2 separate regions of the Homo sapiens genome follow, and region 2 is linked to region 1. The links are contacts of gene promoters, found by promoter capture Hi-C in blood cells and fetal thymus (Javierre and others, 2016). All regions are on one chromosome and are shown on one strand. Each heading gives the region's core, a stretch centred on a gene start or on the middle of the fragment in contact. The rest is flanking DNA. Distances are from core to core; before and after follow the strand shown.

Evidence for each region. Contacts are between HindIII fragments. The CHiCAGO score rates a contact against its expected background, and 5 or more counts as called.
Region 2: a contact is called between the fragment with the promoter of H2BC12 here and the fragment with the promoter of TDP2 in region 1, in 1 of 17 cell types (M0 macrophages). The highest score is 5.5, in M0 macrophages.

The regions. Positions count from the first base shown.
Region 1 is chr6:24,663,686-24,669,092 of GRCh38, forward strand. It overlaps TDP2 (tyrosyl-DNA phosphodiesterase 2), which reads right to left and starts at 3,214. Exons shown (of 7, transcript NM_016614.3): 1 at 3,013-3,214; 2 at 2,841-2,926. The coding sequence starts at 3,177. ACOT13 (acyl-CoA thioesterase 13) reads left to right here and starts at 3,392. Exons shown (of 3, transcript NM_018473.4): 1 at 3,392-3,659. The coding sequence starts at 3,579. RefSeq lists enhancers at 2,260-2,932, 2,933-3,604, 3,136-3,430. The HindIII fragment of the contact is 8,130 bases long and covers 2,122-5,407 here.
Region 2 is chr6:27,143,884-27,149,290 of GRCh38, forward strand. H2BC12 (H2B clustered histone 12) reads right to left here and starts at 2,972. Exons shown (of 1, transcript NM_001312653.2): 1 at 2,478-2,972. The coding sequence starts at 2,915. The coding sequence ends at 2,535. H2AC12 (H2A clustered histone 12) reads left to right here and starts at 3,223. Exons shown (of 1, transcript NM_080596.3): 1 at 3,223-3,679. The coding sequence starts at 3,246. The coding sequence ends at 3,632. MIR3143 (microRNA 3143) reads left to right here and starts at 3,743; the gene lies at 3,743-3,805. RefSeq lists enhancers at 1,870-1,979, 2,399-3,315, 2,570-3,029, 3,360-3,609 and a silencer at 5,389-5,407. The HindIII fragment of the contact is 2,078 bases long and covers 1,785-3,862 here.

The sequences.
Region 1 (5,407 bases), core at 1,964-4,463:
TCCATGTGATACCTGGGCTCCCCTTTCCCTTCTGCCATGATTGAAATCTTCCTGAGGCCCAGCAGAGGCTGGGGCCATGCTTCCAGTAGAGCCTGCAGAACTGTTAGCCAATTAAATCTCTTTTCTTTATAAATTACCCAGTCTCAGGTATTTATAGCAACACAAGAACCTAATACAAATATCTCTGCAATTTATGCAACACCCACAATATTTAATATTTAATGCAGCAAGAAAAACCAGGCAACTGTATTAAAAATTTCCTTTTGGAAAAATGAAAAGGGAAATAAACTCTAAAACGTTGCTGTACAGAAATACTAAGGGAACAGAAAGGGACTGGCAAACTTTAGGGGCATGATTTGTTGACTTCATTCCTAAGCAGAGGAGGAAGTGCTTTTGTCAGTATATCTGGTGTCTTAGGTTTTATGTGTTAGGCCAGTGCTCCTCAATTTTAAATCACCTGGAGATCTTGTCAAAATACAGATTCTGATTCAGTAGGTCTGGGTGAGACCTAAGATTCTGCATGTCTAACAAATTCCCGAGTAGCAGTGGCACGCTGCTGGTCCAGAGTCCACACTCTAAATAACAAGGCTCTGGGACACGGGCTTTCAATGCTGGCTCTGCATTAGAATTACCTGCACAGCTAATAAAAAAAAAAAAAAAAGCCAATAAGGAATAATGGGCCCCACTCAAGACTAATGAAATTAGAATCTCTGGTTTTTTTTTTAAATTCCCCAGATAATTCCAATATGCAGCTAAGATTCAGCATAGCTGTTTTAAGAGGATTTCCCTTGTCTCTCATCAGAGACACTGAAGATAGATTCTAATGTAGGGGACTAAATCACTTTAGTGTTCAATTTCAATTTTTGTTGATATCCCAGGAATTCACTCCAGAATTGAGATTCCTGCGCCATTCATTTAAGACAGCCAATGCCCTTGCTCAGCAGGGTTGAGTTTTTCTGGTCATAAAATCTTCCAATCAATTTTTTTTTCCCTTTCATTTTTGCTAAAGCCAACATCAAAAATCTAATCAGGTCACAGGCCTTAGAAACACGCTGAAGTTTGCCCCTTCCCCATTTTTCTCTCTTGAGCAAACTAAACTTTAAAACCTCACTCTCATTCATACTTGACCTGAGTTCTGAGAGACAAGAGACCACAGCCTAATCAACACCTTTGCTTGTTTTTGCCAATTTACCATTCCGGGGTAAGAGAATCCTAATAGCCATGACACCATTGATCAGCTTGATCCGCATCTTTTCTGAGGGCCTATTACAGGAAATCCACTTATTTTGTTACTATTTATTGGTTACAATATAGTCTGTTGCAACCAACAGACATTAACTCAGGTTGGTTTGACCAAAACAGGAGAATTTATAAGGAAACAAACATGTCACAGAGCCTGGTACAGAAATACAGCCATGTTTAAGGAAGGGCAGTTAAGGGCTTTCTCTCAATCCTACACTTCAACTTCCCTCTGCTTCATTGTCTCTCTGCAGACCTCTGTTCTCAGCTTCTCTGTACACAAAAAAAGATATGTATGAATCCTCACAGGTGCTAAGTTAACATGTTACAGTTCCAGCTCCATAGGAAGACTCAGACTTGACTCTCTTGGTCCTAATTCTGAAACCAAGGAGAGGATCTGACTGGCCAGTTTGAGCTAGGCAAACACCTCCTAGTCCAACTTGCTCTGGTTAGTAAAACGGGAGCCAGAGACAAATCACTGTGGGTGAGTAAACAATTCCCCAACAAGAGGCAAGACAGAGAAAGGAACCTAAAGAAAATATCTTATCACATCTGTAAGCCAGTGTAGCTGAAAAGACCAAAGGGAAAATAAAGTCTCCACTATGAACAGTCAATTTTACAGGTTGTACATATAGCTGGGAGAATTTTATACATTCAGTAAATATTTATTGGGAGCTTATTATGTGTCAAATGTTGTGTCAGACTTTGGGAAATTAACAATGTACAAAACAGATACTCCTTACTAGATGTGCAGTCTAGTAGGAGACATAAAATAATGAACAGCAATTATAATACGGACTAAGGTATTGTAACAGGGGTCATGCAGGATGCTATAAGAGTACCTAAAAGGGGACTCTTACCCAGACTTAGGACATCAGGAAAAGCTTCCTAGAGATAAATCATGTCTCAGCTTGGGGCTTTAAGACAAATATTAGCAAGGAAGGGAAAAGAAAAAAATTCCAGGCACAGGTAATAAAGATCTTTACGAAGTTTCAAAGACAGGAGAAAATGACCCGTTGGAAAAAAGTAAAAGTTTGATAGGCCTGGAACCTGGAAAGGCAGGTTCTAAGTTATGGAGCCAAATAGTAGAGGGCCTTGTAAGGCAGCTACACTTTTTAAGTGCAGGAACTGGAGAGGGGCACTGAAATAACAGGAGTAGGTGTGCATTAAAAAAAAATAACAACAACAACAAACCTGTTATTCTGGCCGGTCAGCCTAGGGCCTAGAATAAATAAACAATACAGGAAGCAAGGAGACTTCCAAGTTGCCATTTTTCGATAGAAGGTTTAGCCTTCGTTCATTTGTTTCAAACCTCTCGCTTACTTATTTCCTTTCATTTGAGTTAAACATTACATTTCCATCTTTTCCTCCCTGGACCCCAAATCACGTTCGAAGCGACAGTCTGGTGCAGTGTTAGATCCGCTGCTGGGGCGCAACTCCGCGCAGCAGCAGCAACGCAAGCCCTGCTCCTCTGGCTACGCAGCTTGGAGATCTGCCTCAGCATCGTCCGCCCAGCTCCACGGCAGGTCCCAGGACGCGCAGGGCTACCTGGTATCAAACTGCCTCCGTGCGGACTGGCTCCCGCTCCCCTCATCACTTACTAGGTCTTGGGCTCAGAGATGGTTTCAGGTCGGCGTTCCAAGGCGCTCTCCTCCACCGGAGGCTCGAAGTAGGAGTTCAGAGCCCTCTGAAAAACAAAGGCACAAGGGATGAGGTTTGTGCGCTCCACCGACCTAGGTAATGGAGCCGGAAGCGAGGACAGCGAAAGCGTACTTCCATCTCCCAGTCGTTCTCGGCCAGGAAGCACTGAGCCACTGCGGCATCGCAGCTTGCGACCGAGGCAAACTCCACACACAGAAGTCGCCGCTTTTTCACCTCAGGCTCGCCCTCTTCCTCCGCCGCCTCCCTCCCGCCCTCCAGGCAACTCCCCAACTCCATCTTCCTGCCGCCTCTGCACCGCCCCTTTAAGCGGAACAGGAGGCCAACGCGCGGCTCTGCGCAGGCGCCTGTGTCATGGCGCTCCCGCATCAACCGCCCGGCGGGGAAATGCGCTGCTCTCGGAAAACTGGTGCAGCTGCGCCGCAAGGGAGCCGCCGGGGCGGTGGGTGCGAAGCGCGCATGCGCGCTTCGTCACAAGGGTGCGAGGAAAGTCAGTGAGCAAATCGCGGACCACCGGGGCTGCCAGCTCGCCTGACTCCCGGCCTCTTGCGCTCCTAGGGGCGGAGAAGGGTGCGGGCTCTTCGCCCTTTGTGTCCTCCTTCTTTCACTAACTTCTGGACTTTCCAGCTCTTCCGAAGTTCGTTCTTGCGCAAAGCCCAAAGGCTGGAAAACCGTCCACGATGACCAGCATGACTCAGTCTCTGCGGGAGGTGATAAAGGCCATGACCAAGGCTCGCAATTTTGAGAGAGTTTTGGGAAAGGTATGGGAAAGGTAGGGGAGAAGCCGTGGCTTCTAATGAAGGAAAAGAAAGCACCGTGCTTGGTGCCGTTGTGAGCTTTGAATAATTATCTCTTGTTAGGTTGTGTTCTAGTACGCCTGTAAATTCACCTTAGTAATAATGATTATTACTTTAATGGAGCCCCTAAATATGCTGGGTCGAACGCGTAAGTTCTCTATCTAAACATAGATAAGTATGGTTATGACTCGTGGAGACAGTTCCAAGGCTGGGAGGGACTTTGGAGTTTGATCCTTCAACCAACAAACGTCTGCATTGCTCCAGAGAAGAGTAAGAGAAACCTCTGCATTTAAGGCACATTACAGTCTAATTCTCTAGGCTCTAGAAGATTAGAAGATAAATAATTGCAATAAGGTACAAAAGCCAAGTGCTTGGTAGAGTGGTGAACGAAGGGAGAAGTTGTTCCTCTGTAGTGGTTTGGGAAATTTCTCAAAGGCACCCAACTCCTGAAGAAGTAAGTTAGCCCTTGGAGGAAGACTGAGTGCTTTTCTGAGACCAGCACTCACAAAGCCCGAAGGTGTTTGTTTGTTTTTGTTTTTTTAGGATGAGGTTTCGCCCTTGTTGCCTAGGCTGGAGTGCAATGGCGCGATCTCGGCTCACTGCAACCTCCACCTCCCTGGTTCAAACAATTCTCCTGCCTCACTCAGCCTCCCGAGTGGCTGGGATTACAGGCATGCGCCACCATGCCCAGCTAATATTGTACTTTTAGTAGAGACAGGGTTTCTCCATGTTGGTCAGGCTGCTCTCGAACTCCCGACCTCAGGTGAAACGCCTGCCTCCGCCTCCCAAAGTGCTGGGATTACTGGTGTGAGCCGCCACGCCAGACCTTGAAGGTGTTTGTTGTTGTTGTTGTTTTGAGATGGAGTCTTGCTCTGTTGCCCATGCGGGAGTGCAGTGACACGATCTCGGCTCACTGCAACCTCCGCCTCCTGGGTTCAAGTGATTCTCATGCCTCAGCCTTCCAAGTAGCTGGGATGATTACAGGCATGCGCCACCAAGCCTGGCTAATTCTTTATTTTTATTAGAGACAGGGTTTCATCATGTTGGTCAGGCTGGTCTCAAACTGCTGACCTCAGGTGATCCACCTGCCTTGGCCTCCCGAAGTGCTGGGATTACAGGCATGAGCCACCATGCCCCGCCAAAAGCAGGGATTTACTGAAAATGAAAGGACACTCCTGTGTTTGGGGTGTGGAGCAGCAGCTCAGGGGCCCTAATACCCCATTGAAGTCTCCTATTGGCCACTTGGTACTCATCTCATGTAAATGAAGTGGTGACCCACAATTGGCTGTGAAAAGCAACCAATGAAAGGCTAAAGTGAAGTTACAAAGTTGCCCTTATATGCAAACGAAGACGTGGCGTGCAATCAGATGGTGAAGTTACATAGTTACACTCCTATGGGAAGATCTGATTGGTTGCAGAAAGAATAATTTTTTTTAAGGGATAACTTACTTCTTAGCGTAATTTTGCTTTTTGCAACCAATCAGAGGTACTTTCAATTTCCCATCTGCCACACAGAAAAGGTGGGGGTTTGGAAAGGGAGAAGCCTCTGGTTCTTTTGTTACTTGGTGTGGGAAGTTAGGGTTTTACTTTCAATTTAGTTCTAGGAAGTCAGCGTGAAACAGCCCTAGGTTCCCTGCCTCCAGATCCGATTCTCCTGCCTCGCTTGTAAGAAAATCATGCTCCATAAGAAGCATTTATAACTAAACCTTGTG
Region 2 (5,407 bases), core at 1,722-4,221, 2.5 Mb after region 1:
GACAATTTAGCACATTCAACTTTTTAACAATTTAAAAGAGATTATGAAATATACAAATAAATAAGTTAAAAGAGCCCTATTTTTGCTCCAAATTAAGTCAAATTAATACACGTGGCTAATGAGAAAATAGATGACAAAGAGATATATGGTATAATGGAAACAAACAAGAGCATAATGGAATCTTGTTCTGAGTCTAATGATTTGAGCAAAGTAAGCTTTGCATCCATTTAGCTATTTGTAAAATAACAGTGATCTGAACTTTTTGATTCCTTCAAGCTGTTAAATTCTGTGCTATCAGCCGGGCGTGGTGGCTCACACCTGTAATCCTAGCACTTTAGGAGGCCGAGGCAGGTGGATCGCCCAAGGTCGGGAGTTCCAGACCAGCCTGGCCAACATGTTGAAACCCCATCTCTACTAAAAATACAAAAATTAGCTGGGCATGGTGGCAGGCACTTGTAATACCAGTCATTCGGGAAACTGAGGCAAGATAATCGCTTGAACCTGGGAGGCGGAGGTTGCAGTGAGCCAAGATCTCGCCGTTGCACTCCAGCCTGGGCAACAGAGTGAGACTCTGTCTGGGGGGGGGGGGGGGGGCGGAATCTGTGCTATCAAGAGAAATAAAATGAGATCATTTTGAAGGGAGAAAAGGGGTGAGGGTGAAAGCAGGAGAAAGTTATGGCCACTTCCACCCAGTATTTCTATTAAAACACAAATGCACTTCCAGAATTTTGTAAAAAGAGCAAAAAGGACTGAAAGTAAATTGTATAAAATCAAGATGATATGTCCATTTGCAAAAATAGTTTGTAAGTCTAAAGGTAATAACAGCAGATAGCTCCAGAGTAAAAATTTTAGTCTATAAAAAGTAGTCAGGTATACCTGAAGGTAGAATTCATTGGCATAGTGTATTTTAGTTTATTTTTTAATTTTATTTGCGACGGAGTTTTGCTCTGTTGCCCAGGCTGGAGTGCAGTGAGGTGATCTAGGCTCACTGCAACCTTTGCCTCCTGGCTTCCAGCAATTCTGCCTCAGCCTCCCGAGTAGCTGGGACTACGGGCACATGCTACCACGCCCCCCCTAATTTTTGTACTGTTAGTAGAGACGGGGTTTCACACTATGTTAGCCATGCTGGTTTTGAATTCCTGACTTCAAGTGATCTGCCCTCCTATATAGGTATAGATATAGATCAGTGCCTCCTATATAGGTAAACAATAAATATAATTATTTGTTGATACATTTCTTAGAATATTAATGTAACCCCAAAATTACTGGTAGGATAAATAAGACTTGGATCAACAGTGAACATATGCTTTGCATGTATGAAGTTTTTCAATATGACCCTGCTAATCTCCAAATGCCTAAGGGCGGGCAATATCCCCAAAGACTAGAACAATGCGTGGCCAAATATGTTAAATACACACACACACACACACACACACACACACACACACACACACAAAATTCCCCTGTGAAACTGGCCTACATTTCTAAATCACAAATTTAGCCAGGTAACAACCTAGCTTAAAATTCGTGGACTCTTTCTTTCACTTGGTTCTTCCAAAAAAGTTTCACACTGCTCATCACCGGCATAGTCATTCTAGCCTCTAATCACACAATAAAACCCACCACCTAATTCTAACCCACCACCTAACACTTAGCTCAAACCCTGTGCTGCTGGGGAAGTTCCCTTCTCCTCTACTCCAACTTCTTGCTTCGGGGCGGACTGTCTCTAGTCTGTCTGTTGTCTCCCCTCTGAATCTACTTGCTTTTCATTTTCCTTTTCTATAAGCTTTCTTGTCAAAAGGAAAAATTACTGATTGGACCAATTGACGCTGAACATGCCTTAAAAACTAGTAAACTATTCCAAAAATCTCCGTGATGATTTCATGTTCCGTTTCTTCACTCCTGAGAAAAGCTGTGCTCCTCCCCTTACCCTTGCAGACTATCCTGCCTGGTGGTCTGGCATCTTCCCGATGTCCCGTGGGCTGCAGAGATGGAATCAGGGGGTGAGGGGGAAGCAAAGCAAGGCAGAGCTGGGTACAGCCTAGAAGAGGTTAAATAAGGTAACTGCTCGAGCGAAAGCCATACGTACTGGAACGCCATCGGGAACCAAATTTACTAATATATAAACTCACGTTAGAACGCCATTACATGGTGGAAAGTACACGTGACACAATAGGCTTTCAACAAGTTCTAACAGGAAGTCACAGCACTCGACACAACGGAAGTATCCATTTTCGCGCCAAGAGCCAGGAAGCACTTTCTGTTAACACAAGTTTCCTGCACATCCCTAATTTTTTAGGCGCCATATTCCTCACTCAGTACTAACAAAGTGTATGTGGCTTCTCCTTAGCCAGACTCGATTACAAGCACTGCATGCATTACTCAGTGTGATAAGATCATGATAATCCCTTTAAAAAGATCGCCCGAATTTAAGCCTGGATTAGGAACACGTGTTTACAGCTCTAATATCGATAATTTAAGTGGCTCTTAAAAGAGCCTTTGGGGTTGGGCTTTAAGACGCTTACTTGGCAAGTTTACTTAGCGCTGGTGTACTTGGTGACGGCCTTGGTGCCCTCGGACACGGCGTGCTTGGCCAACTCCCCGGGCAGCAGCAGGCGCACGGCCGTCTGGATCTCCCTGGAGGTGATGGTCGAGCGCTTGTTGTAATGCGCCAGGCGGGAAGCCTCACCCGCGATGCGTTCGAAGATGTCGTTGACGAAGGAGTTCATGATTCCCATGGCCTTAGAGGAGATGCCGGTGTCGGGGTGGACCTGCTTCAGCACCTTGTACACGTATACGGAGTAGCTCTCCTTGCGGCTGCGCTTGCGCTTCTTGCCGTCCTTCTTCTGCGCCTTAGTCACGGCTTTCTTCGAGCCCTTCTTGGGCGCGGGAGCGGACTTCGCTGGTTCCGGCATGTTGAAGGCGAACTACGAGCCTGAGACGAGCAGCAGATCGAGAAAACGGGAAGTAATGGGAGCAAGGTACCAGGAGTCGTTTTTATATAGGACCTCTCATGCAAATAAGGTGAAGAGTGAAAGTCCTGTATCTGATTGGTGGTTATTAGGGTGACGTCAGAGGTTAGTTATACCCAATCAACCCAATCTGCAAATCCAAAAGACGTACTTCCATTGGTTAAAACTAAGCTACAACCCTAACCAATGACATATCTTCTTTTTCGCGCCCAATAGTGTTTATAAAAGGCGCTGCCTTTCCTCGTTGGCTACTTTCAGTAAGTTGTGACCAGTATGTCTGGACGTGGCAAGCAAGGCGGTAAAGCTCGCGCCAAGGCCAAGACCCGCTCTTCTCGGGCTGGGCTTCAGTTCCCCGTGGGCCGAGTGCACCGCCTGCTCCGCAAGGGTAATTATGCCGAGCGGGTTGGAGCCGGCGCGCCAGTGTACCTGGCTGCGGTGCTGGAGTACCTGACCGCTGAGATCCTGGAGCTGGCTGGCAATGCGGCCCGCGACAACAAGAAGACCCGTATCATCCCGCGTCACCTCCAACTGGCCATCCGCAACGACGAGGAGCTCAACAAGCTGCTGGGCAAAGTCACCATCGCGCAGGGTGGTGTCTTGCCCAATATCCAGGCCGTGCTGCTGCCTAAGAAGACTGAGAGCCACCATAAGGCCAAATAAGGAGCGAGGTTGTGAAAACTGGAAAACAAAGGCTCTTTTCAGAGCCATTCTACACTGTCTTAGAGAAAGCTGGACACAGTCATGTTTGTTTCACTTCATGTTTGCTTCGCTAGATAACATTGTAAAGCGCTTCTTTCGCGGTTGGGCTGGAGCAACTCTTTACAATGTTTCTAAATTAACCCACTGGAAAGCAATGAAGACCCAAAAGTTGTTGTAGGATACTCCGGAGAAGCTTATTCAGCAGGGGTAATAAGTGAAATCAAACGTACAAATCCCTGAAATCTATTTACTAATTCCAGTGGTTTTTTTTTTTTTTTTTTTTTTTTTGAGATGGAGTCTCCAACAGGCTGGAGTGCAGTGGCGCGGCGCGATCTCGGCTCACTGCAACCTCCACCTCCCAGGTTCAAGCGATTCTCCTGTCTCGGCCTCCCGAATAGCTGGGATTACAGGCACACACCACCACGACCGGCTAGTTTTTTTGTATTTTTAGTGGAGACGGGGTTCCACCATGGTGGCCAGGCTGGTCTCGAACTCCTGACCTCAGGTGATCCGCCCGCCTCGGCCTCCCAAAGTGCTGGGATTACAGGCGTGAGCCACAGCGCCCGGCCTCCAGTGTAATAATTCTATTACATTAATAGTGTTGTCAAACAGCCATAAAAATGGGATATACTTGCCATTCTTTAAAGGCAAATTTTGCAATTCTAAGTATTCTTGAAAAGCAAGAAAGGGCAGCCTGATTCTTAAGTGGTCTAACTCTTAAGAGTAACTTTACCCAGGTGATGAAAGTCTAGTGACTCATTTGCATTAGAATTTGATTCCGATGGAAGGAGAATATGGGATGCAGAATTTCCTGAATCCCATATTTGTAAATCCTTAGTCCCATTTCTTTGGAGCAGGTGTATTAATGCACTCTTGTAGTAGCTTAGGATACAACATAGCTTTTTCTGTCTAGCTAATTTGTATTATCAAATTTATTAGATCGGGATTGCTATTGCTTTTGATTGCTTGTCCACATTAATTTACCTACCCTAGGAAGCCCTATGAGTTTCCTTCCTCCGCCCCACCCCCTCTTGATATTACTTGGCCTGCTTTTACTTCATAGCCTCAAGGCTTTCTGGCTATTCCCACAAAATGCCAAACACATTTTCTGTCTTAAGGCCTTTGCACTTTAAATTCCCTCTTCCCCTGATAACTACCTTTCTCACTTTTTTTCAATCTATGTAGGTCTCTGATCAAGTAACACCTATAAAGAGGTCATCTTTGTTTATCTCCTCTCTAAAATGGAGGGCCCCATTACGCTCTCTATGCCTATGGGGATAGGATATATATTAATTGAAATATTACATGTATACATCTTTATTTTTTCTCTACGGAATTCAAGCCACTTAAAAAAGACACCAAAAAATAGTATTAACTTTATGTATTTCACAAAGATTTAAGAGGACATAGTTTGTAATTCAATACACATAGATTTGTTTGCTACTCCCAGTCTTTGCATGCAGAAGCCCAATTGAAAAAGAAATGCAAGAGATGCAGAACGAGAAATTATAATGTAGTGACATATGAGTTCTCGATAAACAGATGCTGAGATGGAGTTTGGGATGCAAAATGTTTATTAGGGCTCAATATCTGTGAAGGGGTGAAGGAAATAGGATTGGGCAAAGGAAAATGTCAAACTATGATACAGGCCAGACAAATGCTCAACCAACCCAGTGGAGAGCTCTGGAGCCAGTATGCCTGTCAAGTTGCCCCCACATTGGGCCAAAGGGGCTCTA